Linked DNA regions of Homo sapiens: regions 1 and 2 are each linked to region 3. Evidence: promoter capture Hi-C in human tissues and cell types (Jung and others, 2019). All regions are on one chromosome and are shown on one strand. Each heading gives the region's core, a stretch centred on a gene start or on the middle of the fragment in contact. The rest is flanking DNA. Distances are from core to core; before and after follow the strand shown.

Region 1 (3,132 bases), core at 85-2,584, 96 kb after region 3:
GGTGGTGGGGATCCTGTGCTGGGCAGCTGGAGCTGGAGCAGGGACAAGTGTGGGGAGAGAAGGCATGAGTGCCCGGCACTCAGCGATTCCCGCCCCCCTTGCATGTTAACCTCGTCCTCCAAACCTGTTCTGCTTTCCCCATCCCACTCCTGCCTCTCCCTACAGCTCCCATTTCCTCCCCTCCCCTTCCTACCAGCTCAGTGCATTAGCACCCTGCAAGCTGCTTTGCCTCCAGCATTCTGCAGAAACTGCTCTTCTGGTGCCTCCTCCAGCCTCCACTTCCCCTTTCAGTCCCCGCATTGTGGACAAGATTCAAACCACCTGCTTCCTCCATCCCACACTGTTTTTCGAAATCTCATCTTTTGGCCCCACCTCTACACAAATGACTGAATCTCTTGTTCTCAGCTGCCTGCTGGACAATTTAAATGTCTTCCCGTTACCTCAACATTGGCCAGACAAAAGTCTACCTGGGCACCCTGTTCTCTTTATTGGTGCTATTTCTGCAGGCACCTGGCCTGGCTCCCCTTTCCCCTCTCCTTCATCTCCCTCTGCACTCGCATCCACCGGTCCTCTCCATCCCGACGGTCACTACCCATATCCGAGCTCCCCTCCTCCTGGGGTCAGTGCTGGGGCATGTTGCCCCAGTCCCTGTTTCTAGCATCTCCCCTCTCCAACCCACCCTAAACACCACTGCCCACACCGCGTGCCTATAGCATGTTTCATCACAGCCTTCTCCAGCTTCCCACTTCATGCTCCTTAGCCTGGCTTAGTCTGGCCCCAGTCCAACTGTCCCCTAGGAATCTCCTGACTCCTCTACCTTAGCCTCTGCCCAGTCTGTCTTGCCCCTGAGGACTGGTCCTTCCTCTCCCTCCTGCTTGTCTGAGACCTGGCCCTCCTCCAAGGCTGGTGACATCCCAACTCCCCGATCCCTCCTGGGCTGTCTCTGTCCTCCGGGACTTCCTCAGTCCCGGAGCTTCTGCAGACTAGCCCTATGTGTCTCTCCAGCTACATTGCAAGGCCTTCGAATAGAGACTTGGCGCATTTCCTCCTTTCGCGTCTCCCTGGTGCCTTAGCCCAGCGCCTTTGAAGATGGTGCTTAGTGCATTTCGATAAGGGGCTGAGCTGAGAAGGCTGGAGACTGGGAGCAGAAATCCTGAGTCCTCTCACCTGGATGACCATGGGCAAGAGTTTCCCATCAGGCTGCAGTTTCAGCATGACCAGAGGGGCAGCCAGGTGCTGCTGGCTACAGAGACTGACGTTGGCCTTGATCCCATCCAGCAGGGAGAAGTCAGCTTCGAACAATGTGCCTCCCTGGGTGCAGGAAGAGGTCAAAGGCTGCTATCAACATAAAGCATCTTCTTCCCACTCGGATTCCTCCAAGGGGGAAGAGAGAGAGAGAGAGGAGAGAGAGAGAGAGAGAGAGAGAGAGAGAGAGAGAGAAGCTAACTTGTCTCCATCACCTACTTTGTACCAGGTAATGGATCATGTGCTTATTGCCTCATATCATTGTTTATTTTTTGAGCCAGGGTATTACTCTGTTGCCCAGGCTGGAGTGCCATGGCGGGACCACCATGGCTCACTGCAGCCTTGACTTCCTTGGGCCCAGGTGATCCTCCCACCTCAGCCTCCCAAATAGCTGGGACTACAGGTGCATGCCACTACACCAAAAGTTACAGGTGCTAATTTTTGTATTTTTGTAGAGGCAGGGTTTCACCACGTTGCCTAGGCTGGTCTCCAACTATTGGGCTCAGGTGATCCTCCTGCCTCGACCTCCCAAAGTGCTGGAATTACAGGTGCAAGCCACTGTGCCCAGCCTTATAATTTTTATACCTAGTTGAACGAGCCTCAGTTGCACAGAAGAGGAAACAGATAATCAGAGAGGCTGGGTATTTTGCCTGAGGTCACACAGCTTACAAATAGCAGAACCAGGATTCACATCCAAGCCTATCTGCCCTTAATCCCATGAATTTCCTCTCTGTTGTTCCATATCGCCTCCTGATGAACAGCCACAGCACTCTGATCCTGACTCTCTTACTCTGCACACTCCCCGAATCCCTAGCACCAGGGGCCAGTCACATTTCTTCATTTGACCCTGTTTCTATCAACCATTCCATCTTGCACGCCCTCCCTCCACAGCTACTCTCGTGTGGGAAGGAGGCCGAGCAGCTGAGCTTCTCCAGGGTCCCTCAGGACCTCTCCTGCAGAATCCGTCCTTGCTGGCTGGCAGCAAGCCAGGCCCACAGTGGGTCCCGCAGCAGCATCATTGGCACTAGGCCACCCCACTTCACTGCTGAGCTTCCTCAGGGCTCTGATGTCCATACCTCCAGCTCCTTCTCCAGCTGGGCCTGCAGTTCCTCCATGCCTGGAGGGAACACTAGGCGAGCAGGAAGGTGAGCAGAGCGCCTCAGCACCACGGGGTTGGCGCCATTAAGAAACTGGTACCCAAATAAGGCATCTTCCTTCCAGGAGTCCCGCACGCGCTCTGGGGAAGGCAGTTGTTGAGCAAGTTGTGGGATCTGAGCTCTTGGTCCTTCCAACCCCACCAACCATGCCCCCTTGACTCCAGCCCACCAGAGGGACCCAAGTCTCTGGTCTCCCCACCCTGCTTCTTTCAATTCCCCTGGGTTGGGTGGGATCTGGGGGTAAGCGTCCTGGGAGACATATTGGGGTGGGGGACTGACCAGCCAGCTTGCTCTGGCCACAGCAGAAAATCTGGTTGAAGTCATTCAGATCATTCTAGCAAGTCGGAACATTATTTTATTTTTGAGATGGAGTCTCACTCTGTCACCAGGCTGGAGTGCAGTGGTGCAATCTTGGCTCATTGCAACCTCCACCTCCTGGGTTCAAGCAATTCTTGTGCCTTAGCCACCCAAGTAACTGGGACTACAGGCGCGTGCCACCACGCCCAGCTAATTTTTGTATTTTTAGTAGAGACAGGGTTTCACCATATTGGCCAGGATGGTCTCGATCTCTTGACCTCGTGATCTGCCCGCCTCAGTCTCCCAAAGTGCTGGGATTATAGGCGTGAGCCACCATGCCCAGCGTCAGAACATTTAGTTTTTGATAGTGAGGTCGGCCAGCCTTCAGGACAGAATGGGGCAAAGGGTTTGAGCATCATTCTGAGACTCCAAC
Region 2 (3,219 bases), core at 595-3,094, 94 kb before region 3:
CCCGGGAGGCGGAGCTTGTGGTGAGTAGAGATCTCGCAGCTGCACTCCAGCCTGGGCGACAGATCGAGACTCCAACTCGAAAAAAAAAAAAAAAAAAATTCTGAATTGCCCCAGAGAAAATATCTCCAAATATCAATATCTGGGGATGCCCCAATAATCACCACCAGACTACTCAGAAAAATTTACAAGCACCACTTGTACACATAGAGCTTCAGGTCTTTCTTTTTATAGCCAGTATTTTCCTGAGGATAGTTCTTGCTCTTGGTCCTTTACTAGTTGTTAACTTGAAACACTGTGAACATTTTCAATGAGCAAAGGCAATCTTTATTTCAGGAATAGTGTTTCTAAGTTTTCTGTGGATATATAGTGCCATTTGTTCTATCTTTCCTGGAGTATACTTTGCAGATGACTCTCAAATCTGTGTGTCTAGCATGGACCTTTCCCTCAGCCCTGCACATTCACACACAACATCTTTTTCTTGAGGTACCTCCAGCTAGTGAAATGCAAATTAAAAAAAAAAAATTAGTCACTGCTCTCCCTCTGACCCCTCATTATTACTGTCACCATATCATTTTCCTCATCTACACTGGTGTTTTGGGTAATATTATTCCCCTAGACATTCATCCTACAAATTTTCAGTCAATTCTGATTCTTCTAACTCTTCTTCATCCTTCCCTCACCACCAAGCCACTGATTCAGCGTTTATTGAATTCCCCACAGCTGTCTTTTCCTTGCCCTTCCCACTCACCTTTCCCTCATTATCATCTCCTATTTGGACTGCTGATGTACTGTCAGAATTGGCCTTCTCACTCCACTACTTTTCTTCAATCTTCAAACTTCTGCCAAGTTAATCTTTCAGATGACCAGCTCTGATCATCATCCTCCCATATCAGAAATCAACATTGGCTCCCTGCCATCACTGCAACCTAAAAATAAACAACAAACAAACAAACACCTTTCCAAATGCAGTGCATAGATTAATCTTCCTATACCTCCTTTTTAATGACAAAAAGTAATACATTTCTGGGAAGACAGTTTCAGTGGAGGCAGCATAGAATTTGGATCTTCCTGGATATCCACATAAAAACAGACAGAACTAGATAGCAAAATCAAATACTCATGAATCACATTTACAAAAAGCTAGACAAGTAATCCCTGCAAACTCCAAAACAGGACAAACCACCAACAGCCATAAGACCTATGTGTTATCCACATCTCACCTGTGCAAGAGAACTTGGAAGAAAACAACAGGACATATGACAAACCTGAAAATGGTAAAATTGTAGTAGGCCAATTTGGGAACAACAGCTGGAACTAGGAGGGAACATGCCCATTTGTTTTAGGCCATTCTCGCACTGCTGTAAAGAAATACCTGAGACTGGCTCATTTACAAGAAAAGAGGTTTAATTGGCTCATGGTTCTACCGGCTGTACAGGAAACATAGTGGCTTCTGCCTCTGGGAAGGCCTCAGGAAGCTTCCAATCATGGAAAAAGGCAAAGGGGGAGCAGGCACATCATATCCTGAAGGCAGGAGCAAGGAAGAGGGGGAGAAGGTGCCTGATATGGTTCGGATCTGTGTCCCCACCTAAATCTTGTGTCAAGTTGTAATTTTCAAATGTCAGAAATGGGACCTGGTTGGAGGTGATTGGCTCATGCGGGTGGATCCTTCGTGAATGGTTTAGCACTATCCGTTGGTACTGTTCTTATGATAGAGTTCTCATGAGATCTGGTTGCTTTAAAGTGTGTGGCACCTCTCCCCTCTCTCTCTCTTCCTCTGGCTCCAGCCATGTGGCTCTCCCTCCACCTTCCATCATGATTTTGTTTCCTGAGGCCTCCCAGAAGCCAAGTAGATGCCAGCATCATACTTCCTGTTCAGCCTGTGGAACCATGAGCCAATTAAATATTTTTTCTTTATAAATTACCCAGTCTCAGGTATTTCTTTATAGCAATGCAAGAACAGACTAAAACAGTGTCGCATACTTTTAAACGACCAGATGTCAGGAGAAGTCACCCACTAGCGCGAGAACAGCACCAAGGAGATGGTGATAAACCATTCATGAGAAATCTCCTCGACAATCCAGTCACCTCCCACCAGGCCCTACCTCCAACAATAGGGATTATAGTTTGATATGATATTTAGAGGGGACACAGATCCAAAGCCTATCACCACTGTAATAGCAAGTAGGTGCCAGGCACAGTTGATAAGATCTAAGGACCTACGGGAACTCCTGAAACTGGTCAGCCAAGGCTGTCTTCCAGGATGGAGCGGAACACTTCAGAGAAACCCTTGGAAAAACTCAACTGAAATAAATGAAAGAAAAGATCCAGAAAAGCACAGGGTGGGGAAACAAAGCCAGGAAATCTCCAAAAGCAGGCCATCATGTTTTTGAACATTACAAGAACAAAAATGGATGGGGATCCAAGAAGTTAGATGTGTTATCTGAACAAGCTTCTTTTTATTAACATGGAAAACAAAATTCACATAAAAATGGCAGTAGAAAAGTAGTGAAGTCAAATCCCATACAAAGTTACTATAAGAAAAGAGACAATAAAGGGCAAAATAATATCATTACACAAAACAAAAGCACAACGGAAAGATGAACAAAAACCAAAGCAAAGGATCAGAAAGAATACTAAAAGCTGTAATTCAAGAAAATGAGGGGGAACTTGGCAAGATAGCCAAATAGGAACAGCTCCGGTCTGCGGCTCCCAGCGAGACCTATGAGGAAGATGGGTGATTTTTGCATTTCCAACTGAGGTACCCAGTTCATCTCATTGGGACTGGTTAGACAGTGGGTGCAGCTCACGAAGGGTGAGCAGAAGCAGGGTGGGGCGTCGTCTCACCTGGGAAGTGCAAGGGGTCAGGAACTCCCTCCCGTAGCCAAGGGAAGCCATGAGGGACTGTGCCATGAAGGACTGTACTATTCAGCCCAGATACTATGCTTTTCCCACGGTTTTTGCAACCAGCAGACCAGGAGATTCTCTCAGGTGCCTACACCACAAGGGCCCTGGGTTTCAAGCATAAAAGTGGGTGGCCATTTGGGCAGACACTGAGCTAGCTGCAGGAGTTTTTTGTTGTTGTTGTTGTACCCCAGTGGCACCTGGAACCCCAGTGAGACAGAACCTTTCACTCCCCTGGAAAGGGGGCTGAAGCAAGGGAGCCAAGGTGGTCTTGCTCAGCGAGTCCCACCCCCCTGGAGACCAGCAAGCTAAGATCCA
Region 3 (3,159 bases), core at 258-2,757:
TGTTTGGTCCACAGTGTTAGGAACGCAGCCCTGCTAGGCTCACGCTTCCTGCCAGGGCCATGCCAACTTCCAAAATCTCCAAAGCGAGAGCTTCCCAAGTCTCCCCTGCCTTCAGGTTCACCTGCGCTAACTCACAGAGACTCCGAGGTTCTTCCTGGAGACCACAGTGAAGGAAGGGTTCTGAGCCTCCCACTTCCTGGGCAGGGCATTTTTCTCTAACCGTCCTTTTTGCCAAGAAGTGCCCCCTTTTGGCTGGGTGTGGTGGCTCATGCCTGTAATCCCAGCACTTTGGGAGGCCGAGGCGGGTGGATCACCTGAGGTCAGGAGTTAGAGATCAGCCTGGCCAACATGGTGAAACCTCATCTCTACTAAAACAATACAAAATTAGCCGGGCATGGCGGTGCACGCCTGTAATCCCAACTACTCGGGAGGCTGAGGCAGGAGAATCACTTGAACCCGAGAGATGAAGGTTGCAGTGAGCTGAAATCGCGCCATTGCACTCCAGGCACTCCAGCCTGGGCAAAAAGAAGCGAAACTCCATCTTAAAAAAAAAAAAAAAAGAAGAAGAAAGAAAGAAATGACTCCTTTCATTTCCATCAGCTCTTGCTTGTGGCAGCTTGGGAGAAGGGAAATGGGGTGGCTGTAGCCGTAAAGGCCCAGGGGACGAGAAGAGTTACATGCCCATGTTCCTGGCACAGGGGACGTGCTCCGAGAGGGACTGTCAAAGCCTCACTCCTCTTCTGCCCAGGCAGCGGGCACACAGGCAGCATCATCTTCCCTTCCTCTGCTCTCTCTCCTCTGCCTGACCTGGCCCCTTCTCCCCCTGCTCTTCCTGGGCTGGTTGAGAAACCAGAGTACTTGAAGGGTCTGGCTGGAGCAAAGCTCTCTGGGGAGGGTCCACTCAGGTCCCTGTCACAGGTAGGGAGCTTTGAGAATGGGGCTTTTTGATCGGTCAGATTCCGCGCCCCCCCTCCCGTTAGAGGTGTGGTCCCAGCCCCCTGCTCTGTCCCCCCTGCCCCGCCCCACGGCTCCCTTTCCAAGGAGGGTGAGAGTAGTCCTGGAGAATCTCCGTGGGACACTTTCTTTCACAGATGGGTGTGAAGGTCATAGTATCAGAACCCCAAATTAGGACCCAAGGTCTCACAAGTATGAGTAGCCCAGTTGGGACCACTGGCCGGGCTATTTGGCTTCAGAACTGTCCCAGAAAGCCTAACATTTGGGGGAAAGGGGCTGCAGTGAAGTGGAGGTAATGCTGCCCACCCCCACCCAGAGATTACCAAGTTTAAACCCTCCTACCCTTGGGGCCCACGGTCTCCAGCTGCTTGTCCTCCTAAGTGTTCTTATGCAGGAACCACTTTCTGCTCCCTTCAGAAACAGCCCTATGTCGTCTACGTCTCTCCCTCGCCAGCCCGGGTCTGCCGCTGGAGAAAGCACTTTCTTACCAGTTCCTGCACACCGAGAAGTCTCCTTCCATGTTCTGCTCTCTGCAGGCTTTCGGTTGAGTTTCGTTTCTTGCAGGCAAGGAAACAAAACTGAAAGTTTTCCGATGGCCCAGCCCACAGCTTCAGGGAGGGAGGAGATCTTCAGAATTCTCGGCTCAGGAGTTCCCCTTGATTCCTGAGGCTGGACCCTCCCAAGAAGCCCCTTTACAGCATGGCCAGCCCCTGCTGTCGCCCTTGGCCGTCATTCTTTGCTGCTGTCACAGCCGCATCTACCTCCCTGAGGCTGGCAGCCTGAGGCCAGGCCTCTCCTGGGCAGCACAGCAGCTTGTTCCCTCACCCTGGCTGGCTGGCTTCTCTCCGTCTGGGTCTCCATCCCTTTTCCAAACCATCCACCTCCCACCCTTCTCCCCCATCTCCGGCTCCCTTCTGGTCCTCCCCTGCAGGAAAGAGGGAACTTGCCATGTTGAGCTTGAATGCTGTTCCCTAAAAATGGCTCCTGGACTTCCAGGCGGTGAGGACCTTGCAAACAGCGTCCAGGGAGGCTCTGGGGATGCAGGGTGGTGTGAGCCCAGACCCAATCTGGTGTGTATCCTCCTGGGGGTCCTTAGAGTTTTTCCAGACCCTAGAAACAGCTGTGCTAACAGAAGAACTCTAAACAACATCTGGAGTGATGACAAGCAGGCCCAGAGAATTCCCGTGGCGTCTGCCAATGGGGTGGGTGCCGCCTCTCTGAGGAGGATAACAAGATTAAGGGAAATGTCCAGGCAGGGCTCCAGCCTCCAGGCAGGCTCTAAAATTCAGGCACTAAATGAGAAGCAGTGTGTGGTGGTACTGATGATCACAGTGATAGGAGGGAAGAATGAAAGACTGTTTCAACATTGTTCCTATGTTCCAGGCACCATTCTAAGCATTAGGTAGGCATTGTCTTCGTTTTAATCCCTCATGTAAGCATTATTAACTCCATTTTGCTATGGAAAACAGAGGCAGTGACAGAGTGAGACTCTGCCTCAAAAAAGAAAAATGAAATGAAAAAAGAGAAAATGGAGGCAGAGAGAGGCTAGGCCAATCGCTCAACATCAGAGCTGGGATTCACACCAGGTTGATATGACTCAGGTGTCTATGTACCTAACCAAGGCCCCATCCACCTCATTTGACAGCTAGTTGGGGTAGTGAGCACTTGGCTGAGAGTCAGAGACTGAGGTTTGCATCTTATCTTGTTCCCTTCCTCATCGGCTAGGCAAGCTCCTTAATCCTTCTGACCCTCACTACCCACTCCTGTCTGTCTCTGGGCAGTCTGTCAATATCAAGAATGAAAAACGAGTGGGCTTGGCTTGGTGGCTCATGCCTGTAATCCCAGCACTTTGGGAGGCCGAGGTGGGCGGATCACGAGGTCAGGAGTTCGAGACCAGCCCGACGAACATGGTGAAACCCCGTCTCTACTAAAAATACAAAAATTAGCTGGGTATGGTAGTGCTTGCCTATAATCCCAGCTACTCAGGAGGCTGAGGCAGGAGAATTGCTTGAACCCAGGAGGTGGAGGTTGCAGTGAGCCGAGATTGCACCACTGCACTCCAGCCTGGGCAACAGAACGAGACTCTGTCTCAAAAAAAAAAAAAAAAAAAAAGGGCTGTGCGCGGTGGCTCATGCCTGTAATCCCAGCCCTTTGAGAGGCCGAGGCGGGTTGATTATGAGGTCAGGAGATTGAGACCATCCTGGC

Evidence for each region. Contacts are between HindIII fragments. The study calls those that stand out against the background at their distance.
Region 1: a fragment that was not itself captured here is called in contact with the fragment with the promoter of XAF1 in region 3 in 5 of the 25 tissues and cell types used here (IMR-90 fibroblasts, liver, lymphoblastoid cells and 2 more).
Region 2: a fragment that was not itself captured here is called in contact with the fragment with the promoter of XAF1 in region 3 in 3 of the 25 tissues and cell types used here (neural progenitor cells, small bowel and spleen).

The regions. Positions count from the first base shown.
Region 1 is chr17:6,658,104-6,661,235 of GRCh38, reverse strand. It overlaps the pseudogene ALOX15P1. Among named protein-coding and RNA genes, the nearest start is that of MIR4520-1, 4.2 kb to the right of the region's middle. The HindIII fragment of the contact is 8,121 bases long and covers 1-3,132 here.
Region 2 is chr17:6,849,109-6,852,327 of GRCh38, reverse strand. No RefSeq gene overlaps it. Among named protein-coding and RNA genes, the nearest start is that of TEKT1, 19 kb to the right of the region's middle. The HindIII fragment of the contact is 4,954 bases long and covers 1-3,219 here.
Region 3 is chr17:6,754,394-6,757,552 of GRCh38, reverse strand. It overlaps XAF1 (XIAP associated factor 1), which reads right to left and starts at 1,507. Exons shown (of 7, transcript NM_017523.5): 1 at 1,443-1,507. The coding sequence starts at 1,474. RefSeq lists an enhancer at 1,331-1,850. The HindIII fragment of the contact is 6,790 bases long and covers 1-3,159 here.